Regions from separate parts of the Homo sapiens genome. Here region 1 is linked to region 2. The links are contacts of gene promoters, found by promoter capture Hi-C in blood cells and fetal thymus (Javierre and others, 2016). All regions are on one chromosome and are shown on one strand. The core of a region is centred on a gene start or on the middle of the fragment in contact, and the rest is flanking DNA. Distances in the headings are between cores, read along the strand shown.

Region 1 (4,259 bases), core at 724-3,223, 740 kb after region 2:
CTGTTTTTACCTCTGTGCGTGCATCCTGCCTCTCTGACAGACTTTGGACTCAATCTTAAGATGAAAGGAACAAAATAGGGGATATTAGAATAGCAGACTTGAGGAAACCGAGTGTTGTTGGTGGCCTCTGGGTGAAATCTTATCTGACTGCTGTGTCTTCATCTTGTCCCTGGATTTGACATTCAGATTTCACAATCCAAGGATAGATTTGAGCAAAGAGTTTACCAGGTCATAAAGAGCCACAACCATTCACCATACCACCTCCAGTAAACTGGAGATGGGACAGCTAGGGACGTTCTGGATGCTGTTCTCCAGAGAGCCCTGGCCAGAAGGACTTCCCACTGAGCCATTTCTCACAAGTGGAATCCAGACCCACGCTTGGTGTCCCCTTCAGTTTGGAAGCCAGGCGTCATTTTCTTCCCACAACTGAATGTCAATATGTTCTTATCCCACTTTAATTCAACACAGCCTTTTATGGAATCTGATCATTTCCTTTTCTGCAAGCTTTACTGCCCTTGTGAAATGCTGACACAGTGATATTTGTCATGTTTATAAACATCTTTTGGAAGCCTACTGTGGGCAAGGCACTGGGGACCAAGCCCAACTCCAGTGGATCTTGCTGCCAGGAGGTTTCCAACACCAGAAATATTAGAAGTTTAGGCAGACATGCCCCAATGGAGGGTGATGAAGGAAGCACTGGATCCCAGAAATACAGCACACTGTGAAGGTCTGTTGGACTCATTAGCATAGGGCAGTGACTTCTTGTTCTTTTGGTTGTGCTGTTTGTACTTTTCCACTCTCAGATAGTTTTGCCATTCAGTGGCTTTTTATGATGTGTTTTCTCTTTGGACTCATGGGCTGGCCTAAAGCAGATGCACTGTTTACTGTTAATAGCAATGTGGTAGAGTGCTGCTCCCGTGCAGCTGAGTGCTTGCTTTCTGGAAGGTTTTAAAGATCCAGGCTCCTGGTTAAATCCCACCCAGAAGACTGACCTCCTTCCAGCTCTTTTCAGTGATTCATTATAGGTATCATTTTGTGTCTGAGCCTTTCTCACCTCTCCTCTTTGGGAGAGGATTCAGCTGGAGATTCATGATCCTCTTTCTTAGCTGCAAGCTCATTCCCTTCGTTGGGGATTCTTGCACAATGTTTGAGGGCCTCTCCCAAGGGACCTCTCCAGCCCCCACACTGTCATTGCAAGGGTTCCCGCCCTGTATCTGGCCTAGCCTGTGCTCATCCAGCTGTCCTGCAGCCCGGCTACCATTCCTAGGACGAAGATGGTTCTTGGCAGCCTCTTTTGCAGTGACTGGACTCGTATTCAGAGAAGAGCCTTTTCAACTGTAGCTCCTGGCTTTTATGTTCTCTCTATTGAATTCTCCCATGCTCCCATTTTCAAAAAATTCTTCTTTCTTTAAATTTCTTGCCACAGCTGGAGATTTGGCCAATGAACTCGTCCGGCACTTTTTGATCGAGTGTACCCCGAAGGGAGTGCGGTTGAAAGGGTGCTCGAATGAACCATATTTCGGTGAGTTGCTTGAGAGGTTGCTGTCAATGTTCTGAACTCATGAGGCCTGGATTCCCTCTGCTCACCAACCTGAGATTTGGGACTATCACTCTTATGGTGGTTTACTCATATTTCAGTCCCCAGTTCTGAAATCCTGCTGATCTGCATTATTATCTTTAAGATAAACTAGATTTGAAGTTGTTCTTAAAAGCTCTGTCAAAACCAAACAAATGAAAAGCACCATATCAGACGTAGGAATTACAGACGTCAATAAGATTCTATCCTAGTTGGCAGGCAGGTAAGTCCTGAGAAGGTTGGAGCTCCAGCATGACCCTATCCCACAGCACAAGGAACAACATAGAGCTCCCAACAGAGCACCCTCCCTTCCCTGCAAATTGGGAGCCTTCCCTACCTCACGAGCTTGTTGGAAAGATGACTTGAGCAATCCACACAAAGCACAGTGCAGCCTTAGGCATCATTGTTATTAGAGCTTTGTTAAGAAGCATTGTGCAGGGGTAATATATATGGTTGAAGTTGGAGTTGGCTTGATGTCAACCCTCCTGATTCAAGATCCAACAAACTGTATGCTTTAGTCTTTATATAATTTGGTAATGATGTGTCTATGATAAGAATGATAAACAGTTCCATTTACTTACCTCTCAACTATCTTGTGGAACTTTATACTTCTTTGAAGTTTTACACAAAGCTGCACACTAATCTAACATACCAGTTGCTAAAAAGATAAGGGCTCAGCCTTTGCATCCGTTTCATTCCAGCTGATAAATTGGCTGAGCACACAACATCTACAGCAGTTGTTGACTCTTGTTTGCTGTCTGTCCACTTTGCAGGGAGCCTGACGGCCTTGGTGTGCCAGCATTCCATCACGCCCTTGGCCTTGCCGTGCAAGCTGCTTATCCCAGAGAGAGGTAAGGGGTCCTCAGTGCTAGTCAGGCTCTGTGTAGATTGTCTGCAGTCAAGGCCACCGGTTTTAGAGATCCATGAAGATCCACTGAGAAAAATAATAAGACTGGAAGTTTTTTCGTATTCTCTTGGTTGAACCCAAGAAAAGGCCAATGAGTTCATCCAAATTAAGGAGAGAAGAGGAGATTCTACTTCACTGACAGCTCCCAGATAGCTTTACATCATGGATTTTGATGAAAGATTTCTATAGAGCAAAGATTCTGTAGTTTAAAAATATAAAACCCTCAGACAAAGAAGGCTTCAGGGTCATTGACATTTAATTTTTACGTTTCTACGGAATGGGCAAAATGTTGATGTTGTTGAACTTAGATGATGGATGCACTGTTCTTTTTACTTTTATGTTTGTTAAACAATATCCATAATGAAATTAAATAACACCCACAGCATGTCAGGGCGATGTGACCGTATGTCCCACTTTCCTAAGCAGTCACAACTTCACATAAAAATGGTCTAACTTAATATATAGGTAAATGTGATTTACTTTTCAAAGTGTCATTGTTCATATGACTAATTCGGTGATTAGAAAAATATTTTGTTAGGCCTTGTCATCTCTACTTTTATTCAGAATGTGATCATGGTTTCTATGGGCCAAATTATTGTCCCAAAGAGAAACTCTTGACTCTGCAAAACCATTGCATGTCACCATCTGGGAATTCTGTCATCAAATTGTCTAACTTTGTCATGAGGATTCTTGGTCAGGAGCAGGACTCATTTCTGTATTTTCTTGCCCCTTCCTACAGATCCATTGGAGGAAATAGCAGAAAGTTCTCCCCAGACGGCAGCCAATTCAGCAGCTGAGCTGTTGAAGCAGGGGGCAGGTCAGTAAATGCAGCTCCATTTCTACATCTGGTGACTGGGGAGAAAAAGGACTCACTGACACAACTTCCTTTTGCACTTCAGTATTCAGGTTTCCTTTCTTTTCTGTGAGCCTTGAAGGAGGTTTCCTTTTATAGAAGCTTGCACAGAGCTGGGTGGGGTGCAGTTGTTGGGACATCAGCAAGGCCTTCATGGGCCGGTCTAACTCAAGCAAGACTAAATTCAGTGGAATAAATGTCAAGCCCTGGATTTAGTTTGGGGGAAAATATAGTAAGACAGGATGTGGGTGATCTGTCTCGGCAACTGTAAATGTAAAAATGTTCCAGAGACATGACTCAACAAGTCACTTGACATGAGTCAATGATTTGACCCACACTGCCAGCAACCCCAGTGAGACATACAACACCCAAGAACCAGCTCGCCAGACAGAGCAGGTCACTTAAAAAAATTATTCATAGAGTTTCTTTTTTAGAGCAGTGACAGATTCACAGCAAAATGGAGAAGAAGGTACAGAGATACACCATATACACGCATAGCCTCCCCGCTGTCAACATCCCCCAGCAAAGTGATGCACATGTTATGGTTGATGAACCTGCATTAACACAGCCTCGTCACCTGAGTCCCTAGTTTAGGGACTTGATATTTAGGTTCACCTTGATGTCATGCATTCTACAGGTTTGGACAAATGCATAATGACAGGTAATCACCGTTACAGTATCATAGTGAATAGTTTTATTGCCCTAAAAATCCTCTGTGCCTTTTCTGTTCGTTCTCCCTCCCCCACCAACCCCAAGCAACCACTCATATTTTTATTGTCTCCATATTTTCAACTTTTCCAGTATTGTCATATAGTTGAAACCATACAGTTCATAGCCTTTTGAGGTTGGCTCCTTTCACTTAGTCATATGCATTTAAGTTTCCTCCATGTGTTTTTATGGCTTGATAGCTCATTTTTTTTTAG
Region 2 (4,217 bases), core at 189-2,688:
CAGAGCACAGTTTATAGTAAGCTACCATTAGGAATGTGGAGAGATAAATATACCTATAAAATATTACATATATAATACAATGTCACATACTGTGCATGTGTATCACATCTTTGAAAGGAAATACTATAAATGGTAGCATAGATGCTAAAAGAGAGGGGAACCAATAGCTAGAAGGCAGATGCCGGGTGGAAAGGCCATATTTGCTGTGTACCATTTTGTAACTTTCGAATTTTGGACTAGTAGGTAAAAAAGTAGAAACTTGGGGGTTTCTTGGTATAAATCTAAGCTTTCAGAAAATAAGTAGTAAATTGAAAAATAACACTTACAAATTCACCCAGAAATCAGCATAAGTAAAAAGAGAAAAAAGCAAAAACAAATATGAAGGAGCAGTTGAACGGAAAGCAAAAGGGAGACACAAGTGTCAATAGGTGGACCATTCTAAGAAAATTGAGGCAGTGGCAGAGAAGCAATATTTGAAGCCCTGATGGCTGAAAAATAGTCCAGAACTGAAAAAACACACAAGTACCCAAATTGAAAAGACTCTCTGAGTTATAAGTGAGGAAAAACAAAAACTAGTATCAAACCTGGATACACTAAAATACAACTGGAAAATATGGATAAACAGAAAATCTTAAAAACTACGCGAGAAATTGCCAAAAAAAACAGAGAAATGAAGATAAGACAGAATTCTCATCAACAACAATCAATCCACAAGGCCATGGAGTAGTATCTCCAAAGTGCTGAGAGTGAAATGACTGTCATCGTAGAATTTATGCCCCAAATAAACCAGCTCATCCTTCCACCTAACTATTCTGTTTCTAGGTGTATGTTTAGAAAAACCTTGTGATGTGCATATAACAACGTGCAATGAGCATTATTCCTTGCCAAAAAAACTGAAAACAACCTAAGCATACATTTACAGAAGGATGGGTAAATGAATTGTGATGTATGTATAATGAAATACCATAGAGCAATTAAAATGAGTGGAGTTAATGTCTCAAGATAAATAATATTGTAAGAAAACCTAGAGTGGCATAACATTTAGTTTATGTTTTAAGCATGAAAATGGTATTATTTATAGATACAGATTTACATAGTAAAGTATCAAAAATAATGAGAATAGAGTATATCAATTTTCAGGTTGTAGTTATCTGTGGAAAATAAGAGTGCTGAGATTCAGGGATACTTGGGGGTCTACTATTATATTTCTGATATTTTCTTTATTAGAAAAGCACTGAAGCAAACACAGCAAAACATCCAGATTTGCTATCGAAAAGCGGTAGGTACATGGGGGGGCCTTTGTATTATTCAGTGGGTGTGACATATGGTACAATTAGGCCCTTGAAGCAGAGAGGTGGTTGCCTGTCCATGCCCTGGCTGGGCGTGGTGGCCATCTGCATTATGAGGTGTCACGGAGGATGATGCAACAGAAGAATCAGAAGCTTTTCAAAATTCCGTCTTCAAGAAGAAACACCCGTGGAGGAAGAAGACATTATACAAAACAAATTTAGAAACTGTATGTATAGCTTCATGTTTTTCATAAAATAGGAATGAGGACAAATGTTGCTCTTCATCCTACCAGCTGTTTGTTCTTTGGTAGGGGATCATGAGTGGAAAAACAAAGGCAAGAAGGGCTGCCATGTTTTTTAGACGTTGCTCTGAAGACGCCAGCGGTAGCGCCAGTGGCAATGCTTTGTTATCAGAGGACGAAAATCCTGATGCGAATGGGTAGGTAAACATGGCAGAACGGTGTGCCTGAAATTGTAGGTTTTATGTGTTACATCTGTCACTTGTGTCTGTTCATCTGTTACCTGTTACCCGACAGTATTTTCTCCCTTTATAGAGAAAATCATTTTCAATAGTTTCCTTTGAAGGTTTCTCTTCATCACAGTCTTACACTTGATCACAATACTTCTATGTCAACGGTATCTGGATTAATAACAGCAGACTTGGGAGAAGGATTAAGAAAGGAGAGCCACCCTCTTTAAAAGAATGAGCCACAGCAGCAGGAACTTAAAAGCTTCCAGATAATTCACTTTTTTTTTTTTTTTTTTTTTTTTTTTTTGTCATTGGGCTAGCTTGTATAGTCTTGGTGGTATGCAGAGCTTAGCACCGGGCTCAGGACTCTGGGCACAGAGTGGCATTTATTACATTCTTGGGTGATAATTGACTAAAGACTCTGGTAGGGGATGCACATTTTGAGTGAATCACCCTGTTTCCTCTAGTGAGAACATATGTGGGGATTATTATAGCAGGGAATCCAAATACCCTAAACCTATTTACAAACGCCCTGCCCATGTGCTGCCTGCTGGGAAAACAAAAACTACAAGTAATGAAATAACCTTCCTATTGGTAACAATGAAGCACTTGCACAGAACAAAACTGTCAATAAAAATAAAAGGAATGCTACAAAGTTATTAGTACAAGTAGAGCAGCATTTCAAAATCACAGTAATAACAAAATATGCTTGCCCCAAATGGCAGAATCCCACTGGCTGGGTGAAGGCACCGAAGGAATTTTGCAATGCAGAGCCTGGCAGCCAGTTTTCTAGTGAAAAACAAAAAACGAAAAACACTGGAGTTAATCTTTGGTAAATATGGTAATGTGATAATTTTCACTTAATGCAGCCCACCAAAAGAGCTCTTGTAGACCATAACTGACCTATGAACAACTTTTTTAATACAGTGGACCCCCTACCACTCTCCACATCTCCAATAATAGTTAAAAGGAAGAGGTTCCAGAATACACTTCCCTGGAGGGGAAGAGAGTTAAGAAAATTCTCTTCTTAGTTGGTTTCCACACTGTCACACTCTTGGATGGCTAATAGGTATGACTGCTTTATGTAGGGTAGATAAGCTACTTAAAGATTCTGTACTGGGAGAATTAGGCGGCCCACTCTAGTGAATACAGTTAATGAATGGTCCATCTTAATGTGATTTTTCTTATGTTTTAAGTAGAAATTTTTAGTTTGCCAACTTGTAATACTTTATCCGGAAGTTTATAGCCTTCACGTTAGATTAATGTGATCATTTTAGCTTCCCTCCCCATCCACCCTTTAGGGCTTTTTAAAAGGTTAGATGTGAAAAGGTTGTCATTACAACCACTTTGTAACACTGAGCAAAATCTACTGCAACGGATTATGCATGTATCCTATGACCCATCAATGTCTCTCTTGAAAATACACTTAAATGAAATACATACTTGTCTTCATCAGAAACCATGTACAAGAATGTTCATAGCTGCATTGCTTGTAGTAATATTTATAACTGCATTGTTTATCATAGCCCCAAACACCCATCAATGTTAGGATGGATACCCACATGATATATTCACACAATGAAATACTACACAGTTATAAGAATGAATGAACCACAACTATACACAACAGCACAGTTGACTCTCACAGACTTAAGACTGGGAACAGGAGGCAGACAGATAGAGCCCATACCCACATGGGTCCATTTATAGATGGTTCAAACCCAGACAAACCTACTTAATGGGGATAGAGCTCAGGAGAGCAGGTACCTTTGGAGGTGGGAGGTATAGGGTTGATAAGGGCATAAGATGGGCTTCTGATGGGCTTGGTATATTCATCTGCTCGGGCTGCAATAATAAATACCACAGACTGGGTGGCTGAAACAACAGAAATTTACTTTTTTTAACAGTTTTGGAGGCTGGGAAGTCCAAGGTTCCAGCTGATTTGGTCTCTAGCGAGGGCTCTCTTCCTGGATTGCCTTCTCACTGTGTCCCCATGTGACCTTTCTTCTGACTGCACAAAGAGAGAAAAAGTTCTGGTCTCTCTTCCACCTCTTCTAAGGACAACAATCCTGCTAGTTTAGAGTCCCACTCATAACCTCTTTTACCCTTAATTAGCAATTAAAGACCCTATCTCTAAATACAGTAACAATGATGGTAGGGCTTCAACAAATGAATGTGTGTGTGTGTGTGTGTGTGTGTGTGTGTTGGGGGGTGGGGTGCAATTCAGTCCACAGAACTGAGTATGCTCAATTTCCAGTCCTGGGTGAGGTTTCATGGATGTGTTCATTCTGTGAGGCATCACTGGTCTGTACAATTATACAGAAAAGAGCACAAATCGTATTTGTATAGCATACTGTACTTCAACACAGAGTAGGAAAAAAGGTCATGGTGGCTTTAAAGAATTTTATCAGATATTTCTTAACTGTCATAGTTCTTTAGCTTAGTACAAAATTTCCATA

What was found. Contacts are between HindIII fragments. The CHiCAGO score rates a contact against its expected background, and 5 or more counts as called.
Region 1: a fragment that was not itself captured here is called in contact with the fragment with the promoter of SUN3 in region 2 in 1 of 17 cell types (naive B cells); the score reaches 5.7 in naive B cells.

What each region holds. Positions count from the first base shown.
Region 1 is chr7:47,290,996-47,295,254 of GRCh38, reverse strand. TNS3 (tensin 3) reads left to right here. Exons shown (of 31, transcript NM_022748.12): 25 at 1,427-1,522; 26 at 2,350-2,427; 27 at 3,223-3,300. Among named protein-coding and RNA genes, the nearest start is that of SNORD151, 170 kb to the left of the region's middle. RefSeq lists enhancers at 993-2,192, 3,416-3,775. The HindIII fragment of the contact is 2,934 bases long and covers 507-3,440 here.
Region 2 is chr7:48,026,328-48,030,544 of GRCh38, reverse strand. SUN3 (Sad1 and UNC84 domain containing 3) reads left to right here and starts at 1,438. Exons shown (of 10, transcript NM_001030019.2): 1 at 1,438-1,728. The coding sequence starts at 1,607. RefSeq lists an enhancer at 1,048-2,247. The HindIII fragment of the contact is 1,156 bases long and covers 289-1,444 here.